2 separate regions of the Homo sapiens genome follow, and region 2 is linked to region 1. Evidence: promoter capture Hi-C in 16 types of primary human blood cells and fetal thymus (Javierre and others, 2016). All regions are on one chromosome and are shown on one strand. Each heading gives the region's core, a stretch centred on a gene start or on the middle of the fragment in contact. The rest is flanking DNA. Distances are from core to core; before and after follow the strand shown.

Region 1 (7,291 bases), core at 3,933-6,432:
CGTTGTGAAACCATCACCAAAATGAAGACAATAAACGTTTCCATCATACATCCCACCCACACAGAGTTCCCTCATGCCCTTCTGTAATCCATCCAAACATCCACTTCCTTCTCTAGGCAACCTTCAATGTGTTTTCTCTTACTACAGATTGATCTGACTTTCTAAAATTTCATATAACCCGAATCACTTCGTTTATATCCTATCATATAAAGGAAATAACTCAGGTGGTTTTCTCTTACTACAGATTGATTTGACTTTCTAAAATTTCATATAACCTAAATCACTTCATTTATATCCTATTGTATAAAGGAAATCACTCAGGTTTTTTTTTATGGTTTAGCCTTCACACAGCATAATTAGAGATCCATCTAGGTTGCTGCATGTATACAAATTGTTTCCTTTAGTTGCTGGGTAATATTCAATTGCATAAATATATCTTAATTTAGTTTATCCATTTACTTGTTGAGGGACATTTGGATTGTTTCCACGTGTTGGCTATTACAAACAAAACTGCTATGAAAATTCATGTACAAGTCTTTGTGTGGACATATGATTTCATTTCTCTTGGGTAAAAACCTAAGAGTAAAATGTTGAGTGTGTGTCTAAGGTTTTAAGAATCTGTTGAACTATTTTCTAAAGTTAATGTTATAATTTTACCTGCCAAATAGCAGTATATTATAATTCCAGTTACTCCACCTTATCGCCAACACTTGGCTCGGTCAATCTTTTTCATTTTAGTCATTCTAGTGGGTATGTATTGTTATCTCATTTCGGGTTTTGTCTTGTATGACTCAGCCCACTTTCACATTCTCCTGGTTCAGATATTCCATTCAAAGCAAGTTGATGTATTCTGTGCTATATGCACAATTAACACATCATCACTTTCATGTCTGTTGCAATATGAGCTGTCAACCCAAAGAACACTCTGCTTTCCATTCTGCATACTTACCCTTTAAGGAATAGATTTGCACTTGCTTTGCTTAGGCACCTCTATCAGTTTAAAAAAAGAGCATGCCCTTTCAAATATATAAATTTATAAATTATATATGTACACGAACATAAATTATATGCCTCAATATAAATTTTTGAAATGTAACACAGATAAAATAAATATTTTAAATGCTTTGTTAATCATCATGACTTAGCACAATCATTAGCTAACATCTAACGGGACAAAAAACAGTCACATTGAGTCTCTCTGTTCACAATAGTGAATGTAAAGCTTATTTCGACAGTCTTCATGATACTTTCTAGGTTTTTTGGTTTCATCGAGTTGTGATCAGTTGTGATTAGACTGACAGCATTTCTTCTACTTAATGCCTCTGACAAAAAATGTGTATACATGTGTCTTTGCGGAGAGGGTGAGAGGGATTGTCAACTCTACCATTTTCTTGTTTTCTGGAGTTGGTTTTATTACTGGGATCTTCACCCAGCATTTCTGTGTAGGACACTTTTGATGTTACCTGTCCAAATGTGAAGCTTATTTTAGATTAAAATAGATAATATAAATCACACATCCACTCATCTGAGCATATGTAAACCAAAATACACCACAAAGCACAGAAAGCAAATTGGAACTTCCCTTCTATCTTGCACCTTTACCTAGCAGGGATAACCAAACCAGATCCTATATGAGGACCACGTGAGGGCGCCAGAGTCCACCCTATATTAAACACTGCCTGGTAAAGCTTAATTCGTGTACTATTTTATGGCTCAGAATGTGGTCTATCCCCATGAATGTAAGCGGGAGAATATGTGCTCTGCTGTTGTGGATGAAGTCATCTATATATGTCAATTATACCCAAGTGGATTGATGGTGCTGTTGAATTCAAGTATGTCCTTACGGATTTTCTGCCTGCTGAATCTGCCCATTTCTGATAAGGAGACTTCAGCACCTTTTCTGATATCAGAAAGATATCATAGAAGTCTCCAACTATGATAGTAAATCCATCTATTTCTCCTTGCAGTTCTATGGGTTTTGCCTCACGTATTTTGTCTCTCCATCAGGTGCATACATATGGGATATTGTTACGTCTTCTTGGATAATTGGCCCCTTTATCATTATATGATGCCCCTCTTTATCCCTAATAATTTTTCTTGGTCTGAAGTCTGCTGTGTTTGAAATTAACACAGCTATTCCTGCTTTCTGTGACTAGCATTAGCATGGTATATCTTTATCCATTTACTTTTCATATATATTGTCTATATTTAAAACGGTCTTGTTGTACACAGTATATAGTTGGGTCTTGTTTCTTGATCCACTCTGATGATCTGTTTCAAATGGTGCATTTCGATCATTGACACTCAAAATGATTGTTGATATAGTTGCTTTAGTTTTGTTACTGGTTTTTATTTGTTGCTTTTTTTCTCTTGTTCTCTGTTTCTATTTTTTGTCTTCCATTCTTTTCCTGCCCTTTATTGTTTTTTGTTTTGTTTGTTTGTTTCTTTTTTTTTTTTTTTTGATTTGGAGTTGCGCTCTGTCACCCAGGCTGGAGTGCAATGGCACGATCTCGACTCACTGCAACCTCCGCCTCCCAGGTTCAAGCGATTCTCATGCCTCAGCCTCCCGAGTAGCTGGGACTACAGGCACCCACCATCATGCCCTGGTAATTTTTGTGTTTTTGTAGAGACAGGGTTTCACTATGTTGGCCAGGCTGGTCTTGAACTCCTGACTTGAGGTGATCCACCCACCTCAGCCTCCCAAAGTGCTGGGATTATGGGCATGAGCCACTGTCCCCAGCCATCTTTATTGTTTTAACTGAGCATTTTATATGATGCAATTCTCTCTTACTTATTAACATATAAATTATAGTTCTTTTTTTCACATTTTTCAGGGGTTGTCCTACATTTGCAATATCTATTTGCAGCTAATCTAAGTCCTCTTTCAAATAGCACTATACCACTTTACGGGTACTGTGAGTAACTCATAATAACAAAACAATCCTAGCTCCTCTGCTATTTTTTGTCGTATGCAATCTGTTTCTAGATTCACTCTTTAAGTGCTAGTAAAGCCATATACCTTTCACTCATCCTTTCCTGATCATAGGAGTTGAGATTTCTCGCTTTTCGGTGATCCTGCAGTCTTGCACGACTTCTTAGTCATGGTTTTTCAGACATGCATGGGGGTTTTCAGATTACAAAACACTGTCACATGCATTACACCATCTGATTTTCAAAACGTCTCTCTCAGAGATCAGGATGTCAGTTGTGCTCATTTTATACATGTGGACACTGAAGGTCAGTGATGTGACTTAACTTACTGGGTCCAAGACACCAGCTGGTAAGTAGCAGAGGCTGGAAAAAGCAGAACGCTGGCTTCCTAATAAGTAGATTTCATAAAACTCCACCACCTACTTCTATATGCATACACTTTGGGTGCAGAGCTCTTATACTTCTTTAAAATTCCAAAGGACCGTGCACACTGGAAGCATCCATCAGCATTTTAAAATTTAAATTATGTCAGCAACAAAATTTCTAGGTAGTTTAGTTTAGGCTGTTTCACATTTGGAAGTTATTGTGATAACCTCAGTAAATTTTTTTTTTGCAATTAATAGTGTCTGGGATTGTTTATAACAGTAACTTAATCAACATAGGCTAAGTAAAACAACATTCTAGTAAGAAGAGGGCCAGTACTCCCAAAGATGACACAAATTCCTAAGCGTTGACAACAGATTGCTTAACTTACTGGGCATGCTTCTCTCCTAAAAATAAGATTGTACGTTTTATCACATCTCTGCACCTGACAGGTTACTTTCTGGTGCCTAAGGAGATCAAATATTAATAACAACTCTTGCGGGACTTGGTTCTACTTTATTTTATTTTATTTACTCTTTTAGAGAAGAAGGAACACTCAAATAATGAATGTAAAATGTCTAGTGGCAGAGAAGGGCGAACCCGGAGTTGTCAGGAATAGGCTGGACAAAAACAACCAAGACTGTCACTTCAAATGAGATGTTGCCAGTGAGTCTAGGCAACCAAGAAGACTTCTGGGGAGCCGAAAAATAATAATAGAAGGGTTCTAACTGAAGATGTTTACCTATTTGAAGTTAAGAAAAAGGAAGAGATGTGGCCTCAAAATTTCCATAATAATTATAATAGGCGTTATTTTGTACTAAACACATCACTAAAATGCGAACTGTAAACATATCTACTGTCCCTTCTACCTGCAACGGTTACATTGCATGTTCTGGGGCTTCCCTTGCTCTTCTAATCCGCAAGTGCCTGGCATGCATCTGTCTTAAAGTATGCTGTCAATTAAGTGCATGGTGATGATGGCCGTGGTGGCTTGGTGTGGGGGGCGAGGACAGTTCCATGCGGGGCAGTTGTCAGGTAACACCTGCATCCCTAGGACTGCTTGTCTAAACACCATTGGGAGCAAAGTACAGAGGTAACGGTTGGGGGATAGAAATGGACTCGGGGACACATAGCCCTGTGTTAGATACTCGACAGGCTTAATGCCACTGAGGCAGCAACTCCACGATGCAGAGATACCAGTGTCCCCATTTTACAGAAGAGCAAACAGACTCAGGTGTGCTAAGTTGCCTCACAGTTAAGTTTCTAGGACCAGAACTCAGGTTTGTCGGATCCCCAAGTTCCCTTTCACTAGGATCAACGCCACGTCTTGGCTATAGCCAGCCGAGGCTGTGAATACACAAAGGCAAGGAATTTCGTGCGGCACCCGCTCAGCATCTGCGCCTTCCACTGCGCTCGTCACGACTTAAGCCCCTGCACCTGGGAACTCCACGCTTACCCAGAAGCAGCGAGGGTCTCCAGTGCGCAGAAGGATCCTACACCCGCCGCCCTGCCGGGTCGCGCGCTCAGCCCACCCATCGCGCTGCCTTCGGACCCGGGCGCGCAGAGCAGCGCAGCTCAGCGCTGCACGCGAGTTCTCTGCGGGGCCCCGGGTTCCTCGTCCGCCCGGGCGCCTCCCCACGCCCGCCCGCCTCTCACCCCAGGCCACCGGCAGCGCAAGCAGCACCACAACCGCCAGCAGGGATCCTCCGCAGCAGAAGGGGAGACCGGGCGCCGGCGGCCCGACAGGCTCCGGGCTTCTTGGAGAAGAGGCCCCCATTCTCCCCAAGCACATCTACAAACCAGATTTGATCTCGAAGAAAACTGAAATAAGAGGAAAAGCTCAGCGAAAATAGGAGTGACCAATCATTGTGCTCCGCGCCCAGAGTGTGGGGAGGGCTGCGGGGTTCCGGGACAAAATGCTTTTGACCACAGCTTCCCCTTCATGGGCGAGGTCATGTTTACTCCCCATTTGCATTGTTTCTAACGAGTTTCGCTGGCAGAGCCCACCTTGCTGACCCAGGTGCAGCAGCAGAGCTTGACAATGCTCGGGCTTCCGATGGATCCCGCGTGTGAGGCCCTGCGCTTCCAGACAAAGGCGGTGGATGATGGCAGCTCGCCTCCAAACACCCTGCTTAACTTTTCCTCTTTGCAAGAATGTGTGTGGGAAGGTCAGCTAATGAAATGCCTGCTCTCCGTGTTGAAGGGCAATTGCAGGCGATGTGTACGGTGTACAGGGAATGTGAAGAAACAATTTCCTTACCCTGAATTGAGACGTCATGCCATTGTAAGATTTTTTAAAAGGGAGGGACAATTAGATACACATTTAAAAAATGTAAATCTGTGTATAGTATGGAAGGTAGATTAGAATAGGGCAATAATGGACTGCGAAGACCAGTCAGGGGAGCTTTTGCCGACATCCAAGTGAGGTTTGATGGCGGCCCTGACTGGGTGGATAAAGTGGACAATTAACAAAGATATTGGAGATGGAATGAACAGTTGCTCATGTATTGGATTTTGGTTACTTCCTTTCTTAAGGTTGGTGGTGAGAAGAAAGCAATCAAGAGTTAGCCCCCTTGCGGTAGTTTGCTGAGAATGATGGTTTCCAGCTTCCACAATGAGAACACATGGACACAGGAAGAGGAACATCACACACCGGGGCCTGTTGTGGGGTGGGGGGAGGGGGGAGGGATAGCATTAGGAGATATACCTAATGTAAAGGACGAGTTAATGGGTGCAGCACACCAACGTCGCACATGTATGCATATGTAACAAACCTGCACGTTGTGCACATGTACCCTAAAACTTAAAGTATAATAAAAAAAAGAAACAAAAAAAAGAAAAAAGAAAGAAATAATTAAATAATTAAGTTTAAAAAAGGTAGAAAAAATAATATTTTATCTTTTTTATTGGGGGTGGCCTGTCCTTCTGACATGTACTGCCTGCCTGTAGGTAGGCTATTTTGCCTGGGTTTTTCTCTTAAAATAATTTTGACTTTAAACCTTGATTTTGTTGTTGTTGTTGTTGTTGTTGCTAATTTTATGTTAAACTTGTTTTCCTTAACCATTAAAAGGAGACATGATTCAGAAAAGAAAAAAAAAAAAGAGTTAGCCCCAGGATTAGAAATGAATGGTGGTGCTACTTACTGAAATAAGAAGTATGGATGTAGGACTGACAGATTTAGGGCAGAGGGTTAAGTATTCAAGGATGAATGTATTCCTCCTATCTATCTGTGATCCTGTGCCCTTTAACCAATCTCTCTCCATCTCCCATTGTCTCTCCCTTCCCCAGCCTCTGGTAACCAGTATTCTACCCTCTACTTCTATGAGATGAGTTTTTTAGAGTCCACATATGACTAATAACATACAGCATTTGTCTTTCTGTGCGCATTGGTTTCCATTAGGCTTCCTCCCAAAATTCTAGTGGAAGAAATGTCTACTTTGATCATATCACTTATCACAGTTTTTAGTACATCCAGTGACATTCTTTTAAGGATTTGCTATCATCATTTCAAGTTATTCTCAACAGAGTAATGGGAGTAGCAGCCAGATTGTAGTAGGCTTAGGAAAAGAGAAGAGGAGAAGGCTCATTTCCCCAGTTTTACATCACATGCTATCAGAAGGTGCCACTCCTTACCACTTCTGCTGGTATCCATCTCCTAGTATCTACTTTCTCCCTCATTCCTTGAAAGTTTGAGCTCCTGGCTCATGGCCACCTTCTCCACTGTTACTTCTGCCACAGTTCCTGGTGATTTCAACATTCACAGCAATAGTATTTTCAAATCCCTGGCCTTCCAGTGCCTTGACCTCTTCTCTGCCTGTGGTCTTGTCCTCCACTCTCCTCTGACTCTAATGCTCATGTGCATGCTCGGAGACTTGTCACTTTCAACCTCTCAGTGATTTCAATGATCCCACTCTCTAACCACCAATCCAACTCTTTTCTTTTACCCTAGTAACGTTAAACTGAATCCAGCAATCTTTGTCTGTCTCAGTGCCTGCAG
Region 2 (7,208 bases), core at 2,204-4,703, 240 kb after region 1:
AACAATTATACATATTTATGGGATACATGTGATATTTTGATACATGCATACAATGTGTAATCGTCAAATCAGGGTATTTAGGATATCCCTCACCTCAAACATTTATCATTTCTTTGGGTTGGGAACATTTTAAATCTTCTCTTTTAGCTATTTTGAAATATACAAGAAATTATTGTTAAGTGTTCTCACCCTACTGTGCTATGGAACACTAGAACTTATTCCTTCTGTCTAACTGTGTATTTGTGCCCATTAACCAACCTCCCTATATTCTTCTCCCGGACCTTTTCCAATGTGTAGTAACTATTGTTCTACTCTCTACTTCCATGAGTTCAACTTCTTAGTTTCCACCTATGAGTGAGAACATGCAACATTTATCTTTCTGTGCCTGGCTCATTTCACTTCACATAATGAACACCAGTTCCATTCAGTGTTGCTGTAAAGGACAGGATTTCATTCTTTTTATGGCTGAATAATATTCCATTGTGTACATATAGCACATATACCACATATTCTTTTTTTTTTTTTTTTTTTCAGGTGGAGTTTTGCTCTTGTTGCCCAGGCTGCAGTGCAATGGCAATGGCGCAATCTCGGCTCACCACAACCTCTGCCTCCTGGGTTTAAGCAATTCTCCTGCCTCAGCCTCCCGAGTTGCTGGGATTACAGGTATGTGCCACCACGCCAGGCTAATTTTTGTATTTTTTAGTAGAGACAGGGTTTCTCCATGTTGACTGGTCTCGAACTCCTGACCTCAGGTGATCCACCAGTCTTGTCATCCCAAAGTGCTGGGATTACAGGTGTGAGCCACTGTGCCCGGCCACCACATATTATTTATTCATTTATTCATCTGTTGGTGGTCTCTTAGGTTGATTCTATCTCTTTGCTATCATGAACAGTGCTGTAATAAATATGGAGGTGCCAGTATCCCTTTGATATACTGATTTCCTTTCTTTTGGATAAATACCCAGTAGTGGGATTGCTGTATCATATGGTAGCTCTATTTTTAATTTTTTAAGAAACCTTTATAATGTTTTTTATAATGGCTATACTAATTTACATTTCCAACAGCAGTGTATAAGAGTTCCCTTTTCAACCAGGCACGGTGGCTCACGCCTGTAATCACAGCACTTTTGGAGGCCCAGGCGGGTGGATAATGAGGTCAGGAGATCAAGACTGTCTTGGCCAACATGGTGAACCCCTATCTCTACTAAAATACAAAAAATTAGCTGGGTGTGGTGGTGCATCTTTGTAATCCCAGCTACTTGGGAGGCTGAGACAGGAGAATCGCTTGAACCCAGAAGGCGGAGGTTGCAGTGAGCTGAGATTGTGCCACTGCACTCCAGCCTGTCAACAGAGCAAGACTCCATCTAAAAAAAAAAAAAAAAAGAGTTCCCTTTTCTCTGCATCCTTGCCAACATCTGTTATTTTTTGACTTTTTAATAATAGTCATTTAAAGTGGGTGAGATAATATCTCATTGTGGTTTTGATTTGCATTTCTCTGATGCTTAGTGGTGTTGAGCATTTGTTCATATAACTGCTGGCCATTTGTATGTCTTTTTTTTTTTTTTTTTTTTTTGAGATGGAGTCTCACTTTGTCACCCAGGCTGGAGTGCAGTGGCGCAATCTTGGCTTACTGCAACCTCCACTTTCTGGGTTCAAGTGATTCTCCTGCCTCAGCCTCCCAAGTAGCTGGGATTACAGGTGCCCACCACCACGCCCAGCTAATTTTTGTATTTTTAGTAGAGACGGGTTTCACCATGTTGGCCAGGCTGGTCTCGAACTCCTAGCCTCAGGTGATCCGCCCACCTTGGCCTCCCAAAGTGCTGAGATTACAGGCGTGAGCCACCATGCCTGGTCCATTTGTATGTCTTCTTTTGATAAGTACTTATTCAGATCTTTTGCCTATTTCTTAATGGGATTATTTCAGGAGGTTTTGCTGTTCTTTGTATTTGTGTTCTTTGTATTGATGTTTTTGTGTTTTCTGGATACTAGTCCTCTGTTGGATGAATAATATTATCTCTCATTCTACAAGTTGTCTCTTCACTCCGTTGATTTTTTCTTTTGCTGTGTAGAAGCTTTTTAGTTAGATTAAATCCCATTTGTCTATTTTTGTTTTTGCTGCCTGTACTTTGAGGTTCTTTGAGGTTACAAATTCTTTGCCTAGGCCAATATCCAGGAGACTTTTCCCTAGATTTTCTTTTAGTATTTTTATAGATTTTGGTCTTACATTTAAGTCTTTAATCCATTTTGAGTTGATTCTTTAATATGGTGAGAGATAGGTATTCAGTTTCATTCTTCTGCATGTGGCAATCCAGTTTACCCAGCACCATTTAGTAAAGAGGATGTCTTTTCCCCAGTGTAAATTCTTGTCAGCTTTGTCAAAGATGAGTTAGCTGCAAATATGTGGCTTTATTTCTGGGTTCTCTATTCTCTTCCACAGGTCTATTTTTATACCAACACCATGCTGTTTTTGTTACTATAGCCTTGTATTATATTTTGAAATCAGATAACATGATGCCTCAAGCTTTGTTCTTTTTGCTCAGGATTGCTTTGGCTACTAGGGCTCTTTTTTAGTTCCATGTGAATTTTAGATTGTTGTTGCTATTTCTGTGAAGAATATCACTGATATTTATTGCTCGGGTTTCACTGAATCTTTAGATTACTTTGTGCAGTATGGTGATTTTGACAATATTAATTCTTCCAATTCATGAGCTTGGGATGTTTTTCCAATTCTTTGTGTCATCAATTTCTTCCATCAATGTGTTTTGTAATTTTTCTTATAGATGTCTTTCACCTCCTTAGTTACATTTATTCCTAGGTATTTTATTTTTTTGTTGCAATTGTAAATGGTTTCTTGACTTCCTTTTCAGCTAGTTTGATATTGTTGTATAGAAATGCTACAGGTATTTGTATGTTGACATGTACAATTATTTAATTTTATTAGATGTTTGTTGGCAGAAAAATTATGTTTTTCTTAATGTTCTCTAAATAATGCACTATTGATATTTATATTAACTGTGAAACAATTTTCCTATTATTTAAATATTAAAAAGTTTTTTTGCACATACAATAAATAGCTTTAACAGTCATCATTAATCATAGTAGTGTACATATAGGACATATTTATAGTAATACAAATATCATATATTTATTCATCAACTGACAGAATCTTAATATAAAGCACATAAGGAGACTTCTCACTCTGTGCCACATCTAGAATATATACTTAGATTCTTTGAAAAGGTTCACTAGTAACTCTAAATCTGAAGGGCTTTTTCTTTTTTTTTAGACGGAGTCTCTCTCTTGTCGCTCAGGCTGGAGTGCAGTGACGTGATCTCAGCTCACTGCAACCTCCACCTCTTGGGTTCAAGCAATTCTCCTGCCTCAGCCTCCTGAGTAGCTGGGATTACGGGCACTCGCCACCATGCCCAACTAATTTTTGTACTTTTAGTAGAGACAGGGTTTTGCCATGTTGTCCAGGCTGGTCTTAAACTCCTGATCTCAGGTGATCTGCCCGTCTCGGCCTCCGAAAGTGCTGGGATTACAGGTGTGAGCCACCGTGCCTGGCCTAAATGACATTTTTAATGTCATTGTTATTCTGATTAGAAGTGATTAGATATGACAGTCAGGAATGTCAGAAATTACATTGCAAGGGAAGTAGGGGGAGACTGATGAACAGAAGTTGGTTAAGGGATACAAAAATACGATTGATAGAAGGAGTAATTTCTGGTATTTGATAGTTAGCTATAATTTATTGTATATTTCCAAATAGCTAGAAGAGAACTGTAATGTTTTCAACACAAAGATAAATGTTTAAGGTGATAGATATCCCAATTACAATGATTGAATAATTACACATTATATACATGTGTCAAAATATTACATGCACCCCCAAATGTGTACAACCATAGTATAGCAATAAAAAATTAAAAATTAGATCTGGAAAGAGGGGAGGAGCAAGATAGTTGAATAGACATCTCCACTGATTGTCCCTCCTACAGAAGCACCAAATTTAACACTATCTACACAATAAAAGCATCTTCGTGAGAACCAAAAACTAGGTGAACACTCACAGTACCTGGTTTTAACTTCCTACTGCTGACAGAGGCACCAAAGACAATAGGAAAGACAGTCTTGAATTGCTGACACCACTACCCCATACCCTGGCAGTGGCCACATGAGGCAGAGAGAGAATCTGTGTGCTTGGGAGAGGGAGAATGCAGCAACTGTGAGACTTTGCATTGACCTCAGTGCTCCCCTGTCACAGCGAAAAGCAAAATAAGGCTGAACTCAGCAGATGCCCACCTATAGAGGAAGCAGTTTGAGGAGCCCTCACCAGATGGGAATCACCCATCCCAGTAGTTGGAATTTGAGTTCCAGCAAGCTTTGCCACCACAGGCTAAAGTGCTTTGAGGCCTAAATAAACTTGAAATGTAATCTGGGCCACAAGGACTGCAACTCCAAGGCAAGTCCTAGTTCTGAGCTGGGCTCAGAGCCCGTGGAACTGGGGGGCATGTGACCTACTGGGACATCAGCCAGGGCAGCCAGGGCTTGTGCTACCCCTCCCCAAACCTCAGACAGCACAGCTCGTGGCTCCAAAAGAGACCTCTTGCTTTTGCTTGAGGAGAAGAAGGGCAAGAGTAATAAGGACTTTGTCTTGCATCTTGGATACAAGTTCAGCTACAGTAAGATAGGGTACCAGTCAGAATTGTGAAGCCCCCACTCGAGGCTCTAGCTCCTGGATGACATTTCTAGACATACCCTGGGCCAGAAGGGAAACTGCTGCCTTGAAGAGAAGGACCCAGTTCCAGCAGTACCTCATCACCTGCTGACTAAAGAGGCTTGGGCCCTGAATAATCAGTAGTGAGACCCAGGTAGTACACTCTGGGCCTTGGGTAAGATTCTGAGACATGCTGGCTTCAAGTGAGACCCAGCACATTCCCAGTTGTTGTGGCTATGGAATGACTCCTCCTGCTGGAGAAAAGCAGAAGGAAAAGTAAAGGGGACTTTGTCTTGTACCTTACATACCAGCTCAACCACAGGGGCAAACCATCAAGCAGGCTCTTGGGGGTCCCTATTTCCAGGCCTTGGCTCTTGGATGGCATTTCTGGACATTCCCTGGACCAGAGTGGAGCCCACTTCCCTGAAAAGTGAGTCCCAGGCCTGGCGGCATTCACCACAAGCTAACTGAAGAGTCCTTGTGCCTTTAGTGAACATTGGTGGTAGCCTGGCAGGACTCACTGTGGGCCTGTGGTGGTGGTAGCCGTGGAATGAAGCTCCTCTGCCTATGGAAAGGGGAGAGAAGAATGGGAAGGACTGGGTCTTGTGGTTTGAGTGTCAGCTCAGCTGCAGGACAATAGAATACCAAGTAGATTCCTAAGGTTTTCAACTCCAGTCCCTGACTCCTAGATGCCATCTCTATACCTACCAAGGGTGTCGAAAACTTGCTTCCCTGAAGAGAAGGACACAAGCCTGGCTGGAGTCATCACCTGCTGATTGTAGAGCCCTAGAGCCTTCACCAAACATAGGCAGTAGAAAGGTAGTCATTACAGTGAGCCTTGGGCGAGACCTAGTGCTGTGATGGCTTCAGGCCTGACCCAGCACAGTAGTGATGGTGGCCATGGAGGTGCTTGTGTCACCTTAATCCCAGCTCCAGACAGCTCAGCATGGAAAGAGAGAGGCCCTGTTTGTTTGGGAGAAAATAAGAAAAGAGAACAGGTAATCCAGAGAATCTTCCAGATCTTATCCAAGACCACCAAGGTGGTACCTCTATGAGTCTGCAATAACTACAGTATTAGTGGATTTGGGGTCCCCCTTAATGCAGACATGGCTTAGGTTACACCACCCAAGTCCTTTTGAATATCTCAAAAGCCTTCCCAAGGACAGGCACAAACAAGCCCAGAATGCAAAGACTTCAATAAATACCTAACTCTTCAATTTCCAGAAATTGGCAAACATCCACAAGCATCCAGACCATCCATGAAAACATGGTTTTACAAAATGAACTAAGTAAGTTACCAGGGACTGATTCTGGAGAAACAGAGATATGTGACCTTTCAGGAAAAGTTTTCAAAATACCTGTTTTGAGGAATCCCAAAGAAATTACAGAAAACACAAAGAAGGAATTCAGAATTCTGTCAGATAAATTTAACCAAGATATAGAAATAATTAAAAAGAATTAGGAAGAAATTCTGGAGTTGAAAAATGCAGTTGACAATGAAGAATGTATCAGAATCTTTTAACAGAAGAATAGATCAAGCAAAAGAAAGAATTAGTGAGCTTGCAGACAGCCTACTTGAAAATACACAGTCAGAGGAGAAAAAGAATAACAAAAAGCAAAGCACACCTACAAGATCTAGAAAATAGCTTCAAAAGGGCAAATCTGAGAGTTATTGGCCTTAAGAGGTAGAGAAAGAGATAAGAGTAGGACATTTATTCAAAGGGATAAGAATAGAGAAATTTTCAAGCCTAGAGAAACGTATTAATATCAAAGTACAAAAAAGTTATAGAACACCAAGCAGATTTAACTCAAAGAAGACTATCTCAAGGCATTTAATAATCAAACTCCCAAAGGTCAAGGATAAAGAAAGGAACCTAAAAGCTGCAAGAGGAAAGAAACAAATGATATACAGTGGAGCTCCAATATGTCTGGCAGCAGACTTTTCAGTGAAAACCTTACAGGCCAGAAGAGAGTGGCATGACATATTTAAAGTGCTGAAGGAAAACAACTTTTACCCTAGAATAGTATATCTGGCAAAAGTATCCTTCAAACATGAAGAGATGTAAAGACTTTCCCAGAGAAACAAAAGCTGAGGGATTTCATCAACACCAGGCCTGTCCTATAAGAAATGCTAAAGGGAACACTTCATCCAGAAAGAAAGGGACATTATGAATAGTAAGAAACCATCTGAAAGCACAAAACTCACTGGTAGTAGTAAGTACACAGAAAAACACAGTATGATAACACTGTAACTGTGGTATGTAAACAAGTCTTATCTTAAGTAGAAGACTAAAAGATGAACCAATCAAAAATAATAACTACAACTTTTCAATACGTAGTGCAATAAGATATAAATAGAGACAACACGAAGTTAAAAAGCAGGGCACAAAGTTAAAAAACAGAGTTTCTATTAGTTTTCTTTTTGCTTGTTTATTTATGCAAACAGTGTTAAGATGTTATCAACTTAAAATAATGGGATATAAGACAGTAT

Evidence for each region. The method cuts DNA at HindIII sites, captures the fragments that hold promoters and counts their contacts. A CHiCAGO score of 5 or more calls a contact.
Region 2: a contact is called between a fragment that was not itself captured here and the fragment with the promoter of CR1 in region 1, in 1 of 17 cell types (M2 macrophages). The highest score is 5.0, in M2 macrophages.

What each region holds. Positions count from the first base shown.
Region 1 is chr1:207,494,048-207,501,338 of GRCh38, reverse strand. It overlaps CR1 (complement C3b/C4b receptor 1 (Knops blood group)), which reads right to left and starts at 5,182. Exons shown (of 47, transcript NM_000651.6): 1 at 4,951-5,182. The coding sequence starts at 5,071. RefSeq lists an enhancer at 1,720-1,779. The HindIII fragment of the contact is 13,119 bases long and covers 1,691-7,291 here.
Region 2 is chr1:207,257,320-207,264,527 of GRCh38, reverse strand. The region is part of intron 2 of LINC02942 (long intergenic non-protein coding RNA 2942); the gene reads right to left. All of the region lies in intron 1 of LOC107985251 (a long non-coding RNA gene), which reads left to right. Among named protein-coding and RNA genes, the nearest start is that of LINC02942, 21 kb to the right of the region's middle. The HindIII fragment of the contact is 1,860 bases long and covers 2,524-4,383 here.